2 separate regions of the Homo sapiens genome follow, and region 1 is linked to region 2. Evidence: promoter capture Hi-C in 16 types of primary human blood cells and fetal thymus (Javierre and others, 2016). All regions are on one chromosome and are shown on one strand. Each heading gives the region's core, a stretch centred on a gene start or on the middle of the fragment in contact. The rest is flanking DNA. Distances are from core to core; before and after follow the strand shown. Region 1 holds the start of COBL (cordon-bleu WH2 repeat protein). Region 2 holds the start of DDC-AS1 (DDC antisense RNA 1).

Region 1 (6,019 bases), core at 1,631-4,130, 790 kb after region 2:
GTTAGTTTTTGCACACAGCCTCTTTCCTAAAAGAACACTTTCCCCAGGAGTCAAGGAAGTCATACATCACTGTTTTAATGAAATTCCTAGTAAAAAACATACAATTTCAATCCAAGTAAAAACGTATATTTGTGTTTTTCACAAAGATAACTAATAACTACCTGTTAATAATTTAGCCAGACACAGAGTCAGTGAGTTTACATTCACCAACCTATCTCCCTTCAGTAATCTTCTAGAAGAGCGTTTGTAGGCCACAGGGTGAAATCTCGTTAATTCACTGCACCCAGTCTAGCTTGTTTCTATACAACACAAGGAGGAGTGGTAGTTTCAGCAACAGCAACAGCTTCACCACATCAGTTTGTTATCATGTGGGAAGACAGAGGCTTACTGAAAGTTTGATTTTATAATAAACGGTTGCAGAATCAGATGGAAAACAAATTTCCCTCAAGCACACTGCAAACACTGCCTTAATCTCAGGGAACAGAGGAGTAATCTCAGTGAAGAGCCAACAGAATCTGCCTGCCACCAATAATGTACTAAAGCCACAAATTTCACAGCAATATCTAACCTTTATAATTAGCAAGCATACACCTAAATTATATAAAATATTCGAAGACCTAACACCATTTATCTCCTCAGATTTGAACACAAAATTGCTTATTAAACACGTAATTCTTGTCTGAAAAAATATAAGGATATTAACATTTTCTTGATGCTTCTTCACTGAAAGTATTAACAAATGACAAAGTGAGAACAATAGAAGTTAAAAATAATATGTCTACATTTCTTGGACAAAGATGTTCGGACAAGTAAATTAGACACTGGATATGAGTGAGGGAAAGAACTGAATGCATCAGGAATAATTTCATGTTTTCCATAGCAAAAATCCTTAGTTTTACTTTGCAATTCAAATATGAAAGCCAATCAGAGCTCTGGGAAGCCCTGAGAAGGCCAGCCCTCGACTACCTCTTGCCACACAGTACCAGGCTGAAAAGAGTGCCACGCTCTTAGGGTAAGTCCTTTCACTTCTATCATTAGACTCCCTTCAAGGATCTTACAGATACTCTTTGGATACAGTTTTGCCGGCCTTTTAAATGTTCTCTCTGTCTTCATATTTATTTATAAGGTGATAGTGACAAAATAATTCAGTGTCCTTAAATAGGCTCATTTAATAGGCTATGAAAGCCACAGATTTAAAGATACCTCTGTTTCACATTTCCCTGTTATTTTGGGATGCCTATTACCATGAAAAAGGATTTCCCACATTTACTTTCTTTCTGGGGAATTTGTTTGTTCAAAGAGAATTATATAACCACCAGTAAGTGCACTGCAAAAAAAAAAAAAGAGAGAGAGAAAGAAAACTTCTTTTTAACATTCCTCAGCTTCAGGATTATTTGATTTGCTAACCTGGCTCACCTTTTCCTGGCATTAAAGGAAAACTTTAAAATTTTAAAAAGAGCCCGACTGAAAGTCTTTTACACACTTGGGCAACACGCCCGCCTATGGGCACATGGGCAGGGTGAGTCAGTGGGACACAACTGTAACAGAAAAAAAGATTTGTTGTCCCCAAAGCTGCCTCCTTCAAGTCCAGTTGCCATAGCAGAAAGTGGGCCCATTCAGTAAGCAGGTGCAGGGCTCACCCCAACCCTCATTCCATTTGCAAGACTCATACACATTTGCTCCAGGCGAGCGAGCGAGTTCGAAGGTCCCCGGCGCGCCGCGCTGAAAACTACAAAGTCCACCGGGACTGCGCGCTACCCCGCGGCCCAGCCTGCACCGCTGGCCGGGATGAGCACGGCGCACCTGGCTCGGGGTCTGAATAATGAGCAGGGCTGCTCGTCCTGTTTGAGGGAAATTACTCTTTCTGAGAGTCAAATCCTGAATGTGACGTGTAATCCCTGCACGCAAGGTGTGGGGATAGCAAACAGAAACCGGGAGAGGTTTGGGCAAAAGCGGAATCGCGAAGACAGGGATGGGCCGCCAGACTCGCGGGTCCGCTACGGATGTCTGCGCCTCAGGCCTGGCCCCACTAGGACGCCCCTTCCACTGCCAGGGGAGACCCTGGAATAAAGGCAGGGAGGGAGAGCTGCTGCCATGAAACCCTCCGGGCAATCCGAACACCTTCCGAGAACGCGGGGCCCGGGCGGCTGCGAAGCCGGGGAGCCCTCCCCTCCACGCTGCCGGGAGAGCCGATCCTGGGGCTGCCGCCGAGGCCGGGAGAGGGAAGACTTGATGGGAACCGGCCAGGGGCAAGCCCGCAGGGAAGAGGCCGGAGTCAAAGGCCGGGCGTCCCCTCGCTCCCCGCTCCACCCCTACGGCAAACACTTGGGGGGCCTGAGGAAAGCTCGGAGCTGAGTGGGGGCTGTGCTGGCGGGGACCCCCATAAGGACGCCTGCATACAAACCACCCCGCGCGAAAAGTGCGCTCCGGCCCCGGCCCGACACGGTTACCTGGGCAACGACCCGGGTGCCCAAAGTACACAGCACGCACCACCACCCAACACCAGCACCCAACACCAGCACCGCACCACCTGCTCCACCACTACCACCAGCACCCGCTGGGGCGGCAGAGAGGGCGCCCTGCCCGGGAGCGCGCGGTGCGGACGCGGGCGTCCGAGCCCAGGGAAGCCCCCTCTCCACCCCGCCCGACCGCGGGGCCGCTTACCCGGTCGGGGGCTTGGCCGCCGAGGCGCGCGGCGCGTCCATGGTGCCGGGGGCCGGGACGCGGGCGGTGCTCCGGGCCCGCCGAGTCAGGCGCTGGCTACCGCCGCCACCGCTGCCGCCCTCATTCACTTTTTCCGCGCTGACCCATCGTCCTCCCACGCGGGCCGGCGGAGGACAGCGGCGGAGCGCGGCGGACGGAAGGGGCTGGAATCGTCTCTAGCGGGCGGGGGCGCCGGGAGCGCAGGGAGGGGCTGGCGGCGGCGCGGGGCGGGGGCGCCGGGAGCAAGGTGCGCCGCGCCCCCGCCCCGGCTGCTCTGCCGCGCCCACCGGAGCGCCGCCCCCGCCCCGCCCCGCCCCGCCTGCTCAGAGTCCCGACCCGGCCCGCGGCGAGCGTCCGGGGAAGGAATCCTCCGGCACCTGGGCCCTGCACCGACACCCGCGGGTGCGGCAGAGGGCTTCTCCCCGTGCTCCTCCACCCCTGGGGGGAGCGCGACCCTCTCTGGGCGGAGTGGGGGATCCCGGGGCCGGCGCCTCCTGGCGGAGTTGGGGGAGGGGAACCACCTGGAGCCTGGAGGCCGTGCGAGGGCGAGGTGGGCGGACCAGCCCGGGAGGACTGACGTTGGAGGGTGAGAAGTGAGTGTCCGGCACCGCTCTCTGACCTTTATCCGTGCAGCAAATGTCTAGTGCGTAGGGTCGCAAAGTGGGAGTCCCGACCGGGAGCGTCAGGAACACCTGGGAACTTGTTAGAAATGCAGATTTCTGGGGCCCACCAGGTCCCACGGAATCAGAAACAGTGCGGGCTGGAGCGCGGCCTCGCTTTGCTAACAACTCACTCGCTCTAGGTGAATGCTCGCTTAAGTTTGCCAACCTGATTCACTGGGCGCTACTGTGGCACAACCCTGCCACTCCAGTGCGGGCTGGCGGGCAGATATGCAGGTCCTGCCGGCCACGCCGGGGCCCAGAGCAAGTCAGCCAGAGGTCCCTTATCTGCCCAACTTCACCTCCACTCTCTAAGATCTTGGTTGGTATGATGGGCTGACCTATAAAAGTGGCAGTTTCATATGGTTTCAATGACTCGAATAAAAGACCAACAAGAGGCCAGATCGGGCGAGCCTGATAGCGTTGGGGGTGACGCTCCCCTTGCGATCTTGTCATTGGATGAGGTATCCAGAGGCCTGCGCAGCCTTCCTCCCTCTGATCCCCTGCTTTCTCATTAACTGAAGGGGGGGCAGACCAGTCTATATGCAAAATGTGAGTCCTTACTCGTGGCTGGCAGATCTTGGGTGCTCCCTGCTCCCACCTAGAAGGTTTCCTAAGTCCCCAGGTGGCCCTGGGGCTCACTTCCCTGCAGCCCAGCCTCCCATGAGTGGAGCGCTTTCCCGGCTCAGGGCCTCTGGCTGGGATGCTGCTCCACAGTGCTCTTCCTCCTCCTTTTCATCCCGTGGTCTCCCCAAGGAGCCTTTCCTGGCCTCTCTGTCTAAAAGCACCCTGCGGAGCACAGTGGCTTACACCTGTAACCTCAGCACTCAGGGAAGCCAAGGCCGGAGGAGCAGTTGAGCTCAGGAGTCGGAGACCAGCCTGTGCAACCTGGGAGAACTTTCTACAAAATAAAAAAATTAGCGGAGCATGGTGGCACACACCTGTAATCCCAGCTACGGGGCGGGGCGGCGAGTGGGGAGCAGGCTGGACAATGGAGTGAGATCCTGTCTTAAAACACAAAATAAAAGCAGCTCTCACTCAAGCTCCTGACTGCTGCCTTGTCCTAATTTTCTTCTGAGCATTTGTCACTGTATGTGTGTGTGTATGTGTGTATGTGTATATATATATGTGTGTGTGTATATGTGTATGTGTGTATATATGTGTGTGTTTATATTTAAATGTAAGTTTATAAAGAAATGTTTACATGTAATGTGTTATATTTATAGACATGTTTATATGAATGCATAAAATTTGTATTTATGTAAACTTATAAATATGTATATACATTATATATAAATGGAATAAAAAACATAAATAACATATCCTATTCCGCATATATTTTGCTCATGTGTTTGCCATTGGTCTCCTCCCTAGCATGTGATCTTAGCAAGCGCTGGGCCTTTGTCTGATTTATCACCCCCAGCATCTAGGGCAGTGCCTAGCAGGGTGGAGTCAGTGCTCAGTAAACAAAGGGTGCACTGAATGAATGAATCTCTTCTTGCACCTTGGGTGTGGGTATTAGAGAGTCTCTCCCAAAATCTGGGGAGCCCCTCCTTGCTCTGGACACCACCATGGGAAGGGCTGCCCAGGAGGGGCCAGAGCTGAAAACTAGACTAGGCACTGTGAGCCAGACCCCATTGAAATCCCTAAGGAGAAGTCCACCTCACAGGTGACACATACTCCAAGCACCTGGCAGAGGCAGCAAGAGGAAGTATGGTGGGGACATGGAGCAAAAGAAGCCCGGAGTGACCCAGTGTCTCAGATGCTGAGCACAGATGGCAACAGGAAGCCCGAAGCAGGTGGATGGTGAAGAGTAAGAGAGCTCCTCAACATCCAGAAAAACAATGAGAAGGAGGTGACGTGCCACCTCCAGGCCAAGATGCAACTTGCTGTTCTAGGAAAAAGGCCCAGGTGACCCTAGGCCTGGACAACCTCAGATCCTTGGAAGGCCCCCAGACATCTACTCAGAAACCCAACAGGGACCAGTTTCCAGAAATGAAGTGGAGGGTTAAGCCTGGTTAGAGCTGTCAGGATGAGACACAGAGTAAAGGTCAGACTTCTGCCAGAGGGAGGAGCTTCACGCTGTGACCCAGGGCCTGCAATCTAAATGGGCCAGGACTGCCGATCACTTGTGTCAACTGTGGGGAGGGGCACAGAGCCTGGGGGGGCAGGCGGGGCCTAGGACCTGATCAGATTCTGTGCATATTGCCACCCACACTTCCCTGACTGATAAGGGCCCCAAGAGATGCAACTGTGGGGAGTTGTTTTCCAAAATTGTATAGTTCAACAGATATTTCTGAGCATCTACTGTATGCCAGCCTTTGTCTGCGGTGTGGATGTGGCCACCTCATAGGGAGGGCTAGGCAAGGAAATCAGTAACAGACAGGGCTGAGCTCTTCCAGACAGACAGTGAGAAAGAGGAATAGGTGATGGGCTGAAAGCAAAGGGCTGAGTGGGGCCTTGTAGAGGATGTCACCAAGATCAGCCTACCACTTGTCACTGAGCAGAACGCACTCCTTCCTGTGCTTACTGACTTCAGCAGAGCAAATGGCACAATCACACGCTAGGGAAACTCAAAGGGAAAGGTGTTCTTTATGGACTCTTTCCTGCACATGCTTTTAAATGTCCTTATTAAAACTGTCACTTTTTTTTTTTTT
Region 2 (6,102 bases), core at 104-2,603:
TTTGGACTTGCAGCCTTCGGGACTGTGAGAAAAGAAATTCTTCTTCGATCCACCCAGTCAGTGGTATTTTGTTAGGGAACCCCTGGCAAACTAATGGATTCAGGGCCTGCTATGTTATCCCATTTAAGTTGTAAAAATAATCCCATTTTTGTGTTTTATCATCTTCAGGTGGGGAAACAGATGTGCAGAGAGGTTCACTAACTTGCCCCAAATCAGCAGCTAGGTAGGGCACGGTTAGGAGTGAGCCCACGCCTGCGCTTTTTAGGGTGCCATGGGCCTAGAAAGGTAGGGGCAGCGAGCACCTTCCCTCTTAAGTAAGTCGTAGAAGAAACCCATCTACCGACCAGTATGAAAGGACATTAGAAAGGGCAAATAAAAGAAGGTAGGTTCTTGTTGACTCTGAAAAAGTTTATAACATGATAGGTTTTTACAGAGAAATATATAATAAAATAATTAAGTAGAAATGCTAACCTCTCTTCTTAACATTTGATGCTCTCTTCATTGACCCTGATTTCTCATTTTGACTTTGCCTTGACACTACTTTTACTTATTCTTTTGAGCCAACCCACATCCTTTGGTGGGACAGTAATATTGAAAGATAAATACATTTATTCATGTTTCTGTAGCACTAATGGATGGGTTCAAATATACAGATATATGCGTCTCTTAATTCAGCATCTAAAATGGGTACTTTATTTCCTTCAGGCTATATTTTCATGAGCAATGATTTTAGACATTGTTTTAGGCCAGGTTTACAAACCTTGGCCAGAGGAGAGAGAAGGGGAGAAACCAATTTTGGCTGGCAAAGCTAAATCAGCCATCCCAGGAAACCCAGGCTCCCTGAGAGCAGGCATTGTACCTTACTTACACTTCTCCTATGTACCCCATCATTCCTGTCCCTGATTTCCTCCTGTCCCCCTATCTGCCCCCACACACATTTTGTTTGTCATGTCCCACCCATTCTCATTGGAAATGTAACATGAAAAGCCTGGTGGAAGGCACAATTCCCTGTTCTGATGCTTGACAAGCAGGCGTGACTGCAGCTTCCCCGGCTAAATTCTACCCTCTGCTTGAAGCGTTGGAACGCAGGTGTTCATTCTCTGAACATTCTAATGAAATGAGTCACCATGAATCACCTGAATCACCATGACAACTCATTATGGCTTTTCTCTGGGGGGGGATGGGGGAGCTTAGTTCATGTCCTAAGAGAAAATTCACCTTCTTAAGTCAACAAAATGATGTTTTAAAAGCCTGAAGGAGCAAATCGTCAGTAGCACATCTAGAACCACACCACCCCGATGCCACCAGGGTGGCCTGGTGGCCTCAAGCATGATGTCAGGTGGAGCTCTCTGCACTTTGCTGGCAGCAGATCTTCGCGGAGAGAAGCACGGGGAGGGTGACATGTGGTACAGAGCAGGAACGATGGCTCTGTGCGATAGCAGCAGACAAAGGTTGCCATGGCAAGCCTGCTCAGGAGGTAGGAGGGGATGCTGGTAAGGTCTGACGCTTCTGGCTGCTGATGCCGTGAGCAGAAATGTCCTTTCATCTTCAGTTTTTTTCGAAGCAAAAAATTGTCTTTTCTTCCACAAGAACTTTAAAACCCAATTAAGAGACCATTTTCCCAGACCACATTTGTCCAGCCTCACAACAACAGTTTGCCATTTGACTCAGACACGCATCACTGCGCTGACGCCCACAGCTGTGATTACAGCTCTGAGGGGATCAATAATGCAGGCTGGCTCACAGGCTGTCACCAGGCTCCTGTGCTCTTTGGGGCCTCACCAATTACAGACAATCAGCCTTGTCTGCTGAGAAGGGTGAGCTTCCGGTGGCAAACACAGATCCCATTTCTTCCTTTCATCCAGAAAAAAACTGAGTGGATTGGGCTCACAGGAAGATTGTGTTAAAGCGGGGGCTGAGAGATGCCAGGAATATTCCTACCCAAATGCTAAAGACTTGTATGGTCTCTCAAAAATGAGGTTGTCTTTAATGAAACGAAAATGCAGCCCATAGTAGCATGCACATCTCTGGACACCAACCCAAGCCTATGGTCAGGGATGAGCTGGTGTAACAGTCATAACTCTGGTTGTCTTTCCTACTAGCCTTGGCTTTAATTCACTTTTGCTGCTATGCATGTTCTACTAACTTTCTGGGACTCAATATCCTCATCCATGAAAAAGATTGTCCATAATCCAATCAATCTTCATAAATACTTTGAGGATGAAGACAATAACACAAAGCACAAGACATAGGCTAAAACATAGCCAAGCTCATAATTGCTATTCAATGAAAAGTAGCTCTTATTATAATAGACACAGCTTATATTATGAGGGATTGATAAGATTTTTTTGAGGAGTATATAATTAGAGGAATCATCTGCTGAAAAAATTGAATATGAAATTGTTTTTGTTATAAGATGCAATGACCTAGAAATGCTTCAATTTTTGTTTTGTTCCATTTGGATTTAGTGGGGAGCATGAATGTTAAACATGAATACAGCCAGGAGAGTCCTAGGAGGAAGGTGATCATCTTGGAAGATTGTTGCACTTCATCCTAAAGGGTGTCCTCCAAAATTTTTTTTATAAGAATGGAAAATTTGATGCAACACAAATATCTTAGGTATTATTTATATATTTATATAGATTGTGATGCATCATAGAAAATCATGGAGTAATACTTTTTTCAAACAATATTTAAATAGTGGGAAATGCTCACAATAAAATGATAAGGAAAGCACCATGCAGAAAATCCATATGCGTAGTATCATTTCAATTTTGTCTGTATACATATATTCACATGTAGATACTGAAATAACACAGGGAATATGACAAGAAAGCTCCTGTGTCTTTTCATTTTTACCATGAATGTCCAGTATCTAGGTGGAAAGGGGACTTTTTTTTTTTTTTTTGAGACAGGGTCTCACTCTGTCACCCCGACTGGAGTGCAGTGGCATGATCTCAGCTCACCTCAACATCCACCTCCTGGGTTCAAATGATTCTCCTGCCTCAACCTCCTGAGTAGCTGGGATTACAGGCACATGCCACCATGTCCAGCTAAGTTTTGTATTTTTAGTAGAGATGGGATTTCACCATGTTGGCCAGGCTGGTCTTAAACTCCTACCTCAAATGATCCACCCGCCTTGGCCTCCCAAAGTGTTGGGATTACAGGCGTGAGCCACCACACCAGGTCCATAATCACATAATCATGTGGAGAAAACCATGAAAAGCTTCCTAAAATATAGAAGATAACAAAAAAGGGAAATATCGAAAGGAAGAGAGAAATCATGGAAGAGGTACCCAATCTGTGGAAAATTGAAGTCCCTGAAAAAGAGTGACGTGGCCCACAATAACTAACATACAGTAGAAGAAAAATCTCCACACTGCACAGAGCTGAGTCTTGAATCAGCAGGGCTCACCAAATGCTAGGGAGGGTCAAAATGAGGGGAACAGTCTGGGTGCAGTGGCTCACTGCTGGATCTGTCCTGCAGACCCTGGCCGATGGAGGAAATGAGTGCTCAGACACAGGTATGCAGTGTAAGAGCAGCTAAGTGACTGCCTGGCTCTAGTGGCCAGAGAGCAGCCCTGAGAAGCTGGAGCAGCTTGCTTTTATTGAGTGCAAGCACAATGCTGAAAACCTGGAGCAAACACAACCTGTAGATAATTAACATTTATTGTTCCCCTTTCAGGGAATGTCACGTGCAAGGATGTTCCGAGGTCAGTTCCTGGACAACTTCTAACAAACAAGCTTGACCAAGATAAATTCCCCTACACTCCCTTGTACCTACTCCTTATCCTCTGCCTCAGGGTTATAGAACAGCTGCCTTCAGCTATTCTGCCATGGAGCTTTGCAGAGCCTTCTGACCTTTCAGAAGGCCTGCTCCTTTTCCCTATAGTTTCTCCCACCACTCTGACCGATCTCCTACAGCTCACACCTGTAATCCTAGCACTTTGGGAGGCCGAGGTGGGTGGATCACCTGAGGTCAGGAGTTTGAGACCAGCCTGGGCAAAATGGCAAAACCCTGTCTCTACTACAAATACAAAAATTATCCAGGCATGGTGATGGGTGCCTTGTAATCCCAGCTTCTTGGGAAGCTGAGGCAGGAGAATGGCTTGAACCGGGAGGCAGTGGTTGCAGTGAGCTGAGATCGTGCCACTGCACTCCAGCCTGGGCGACAAGAATGAGACTTCGTCTAAAAACAAGACAAAATAAAAAAAAAAAATGAGAGGAACAAATGGAAAAGAAATGGAAAAGTAGACCTTGTCCCGTGTATAAAACTAAAAGAAAAAGTAAGTCGGCCACCAACATCGAGGCCTCTTGTAAAGGGTTAGACCATGCATGCCCTTGCCTGGAATCAAAACCACGCCCTCTGCAGGCACGCAGCTGTCCCACTGGGTCGCTGAGTGCTGCTGCCCTCTGTCCCCTGGAGAATCAGGACTGATGTTCCAGAGGCCAGAAAGCCATCTGGCCCTCACCAAGGCAAAGTGCAGCTGACAGAGCACTGGCTGCGGACAGTGTGCAGTAGCTCCCTCCCCTCGCTGGAAGGGCACCTGTGACAGCCTATCCTTGCTGTGATCTTGGCCAAGGAGGCTTCTCCAGCTGCATACTCACTGACCAGAAGAAAATTGTGCTGGGACTGAAGCATGATTCATTTGCTGAATCATTGCTGAGTCATTGTTGCTGCTACGTAGAATGGTATGGTTCACAGCAACGTATTGAAGCTTTGCTTACAACATAGCTGACGTTTTCTTTTCTTTCTTTTTTTTTTTTCTTGATGGAGTTTCCCTCTCGTCAACCAGGCTGGAGTGCAATGGCAAGGTCTTGGCTCACGGCAACCTCTGCCTCCCAGGTTCAAGCAATTCTCCTCCCAAGTAGCTGGGATTATAGGTGCCCGCCACCACACCTGGATAATTTTTGTATTTTTAGTAGAGACAGGGTTTCACCATGTTGGCCAGGCTGGTCTCAGACTCCTGACCTCAGGTGATCTGCCTGCCTTGGCCTCACAAAGTGCTGGGATTACAGGCGTGAGCCACTATGCCTGACATTTCATTTTCCTCAGCTCCCCATTTAATATCACTTATGTCTGATGGAAAAAGAGATAACCAAAGAATGCGAAGGAGGAGCACGTGGAGGGATGACTCTGAGCCTGGCCACAGGGCCTGTGGGTCATGGAGAAGGCAGTCATCAGTCCCGGCATGTGGCCTATTCAGGAATCTGGGTGTCATCCGGATGAATTAGCGTTCACATTTTTTGGCCCAGAGTCTAGGAATAGGCATTACAAGCAAGTTCCCTCCATGACTCTGAAGCACACTGGATGTGGTAGGCACATTAATGCACCCTCATTCCCAGAGATTTCAGGTCTTGGTCCCCAGAATCTGTGACTGTTTCCCTTCCAGGGAAAAGGTGACTTTGCTGATGTGATTAAGTTAAGAAACTTGACTTGAGAGATTATCTCAGATTGCCTGGATGGACCCAATCCAATCATATGTGTCCTTAAAAGTGGAGACCCACTTTCCGATCTTATATGTGGTCACAAGGAGATGCGACCAGGAAAGTGTGAAAGGAAAATAAATCTTGGGACCCCCAAATCACTAAGCCAAAGGGAAAAGTCAAGCTGGGAACTGCTTAGGCCAAACCTGCCTCCCATTCTATTCCTAAAAGAGATAGCTACTAAGATAAAAAGCTACATGCCTCCCTCATAAGGAATTTCCTTTTGGATGAAGGACAGACAGAACTCAAAGTCACCCCTCTGCCCACTGAGATAGCTGCACATCTGATGGCCTCCTTTGGAAAGGCTAATCAGAAACTCAAAAGAATGCAACCAATTGTCTCTTATCTACCTATGACCTGAAAGCCCCCTCCCTGCTTTGAATTGTCCCACCTTTCCAGACCAAACCAATGTACATCTTACATCTCATGTCCCCCTAAAATGTATACAACCAAGCTGTGCCCAACCACCTTGGGCACATGTAGTCAGGATCTCTTGAGGCTGTATCACAGGCACGCATCCTTAACTTTGGCAAAATAAACTAAGTTGACTGAGACCCATCTCAGATATTTGGGGTTTACAAAAGAAAGGTCAGAAAGATGGGACACAGCTGGCTT

Evidence for each region. The method cuts DNA at HindIII sites, captures the fragments that hold promoters and counts their contacts. A CHiCAGO score of 5 or more calls a contact.
Region 1: the fragment with the promoter of COBL here is called in contact with the fragment with the promoter of DDC-AS1 in region 2 in 10 of 17 cell types (erythroblasts, M2 macrophages, neutrophils and 7 more); the score reaches 15.9 in erythroblasts.

The regions. Positions count from the first base shown.
Region 1 is chr7:51,313,929-51,319,947 of GRCh38, forward strand. COBL (cordon-bleu WH2 repeat protein) reads right to left here and starts at 2,881. Exons shown (of 13, transcript NM_015198.5): 1 at 2,665-2,881. The coding sequence starts at 2,705. It overlaps LOC124901633 (a long non-coding RNA gene), which reads left to right and starts at 3,056. Exons shown (of 2, transcript XR_007060324.1): 1 at 3,056-3,296; 2 at 4,119-4,404. RefSeq lists enhancers at 3,139-3,732, 3,733-4,325. The HindIII fragment of the contact is 13,046 bases long and covers 1-6,019 here.
Region 2 is chr7:50,530,406-50,536,507 of GRCh38, forward strand. It overlaps DDC-AS1 (DDC antisense RNA 1), which reads left to right and starts at 1,354. Exons shown (of 5, transcript NR_033845.1): 1 at 1,354-1,477. The region is part of intron 4 of DDC (dopa decarboxylase); the gene reads right to left. RefSeq lists enhancers at 257-426, 275-444, 804-2,003, 4,367-5,566. The HindIII fragment of the contact is 9,169 bases long and covers 1-3,224 here.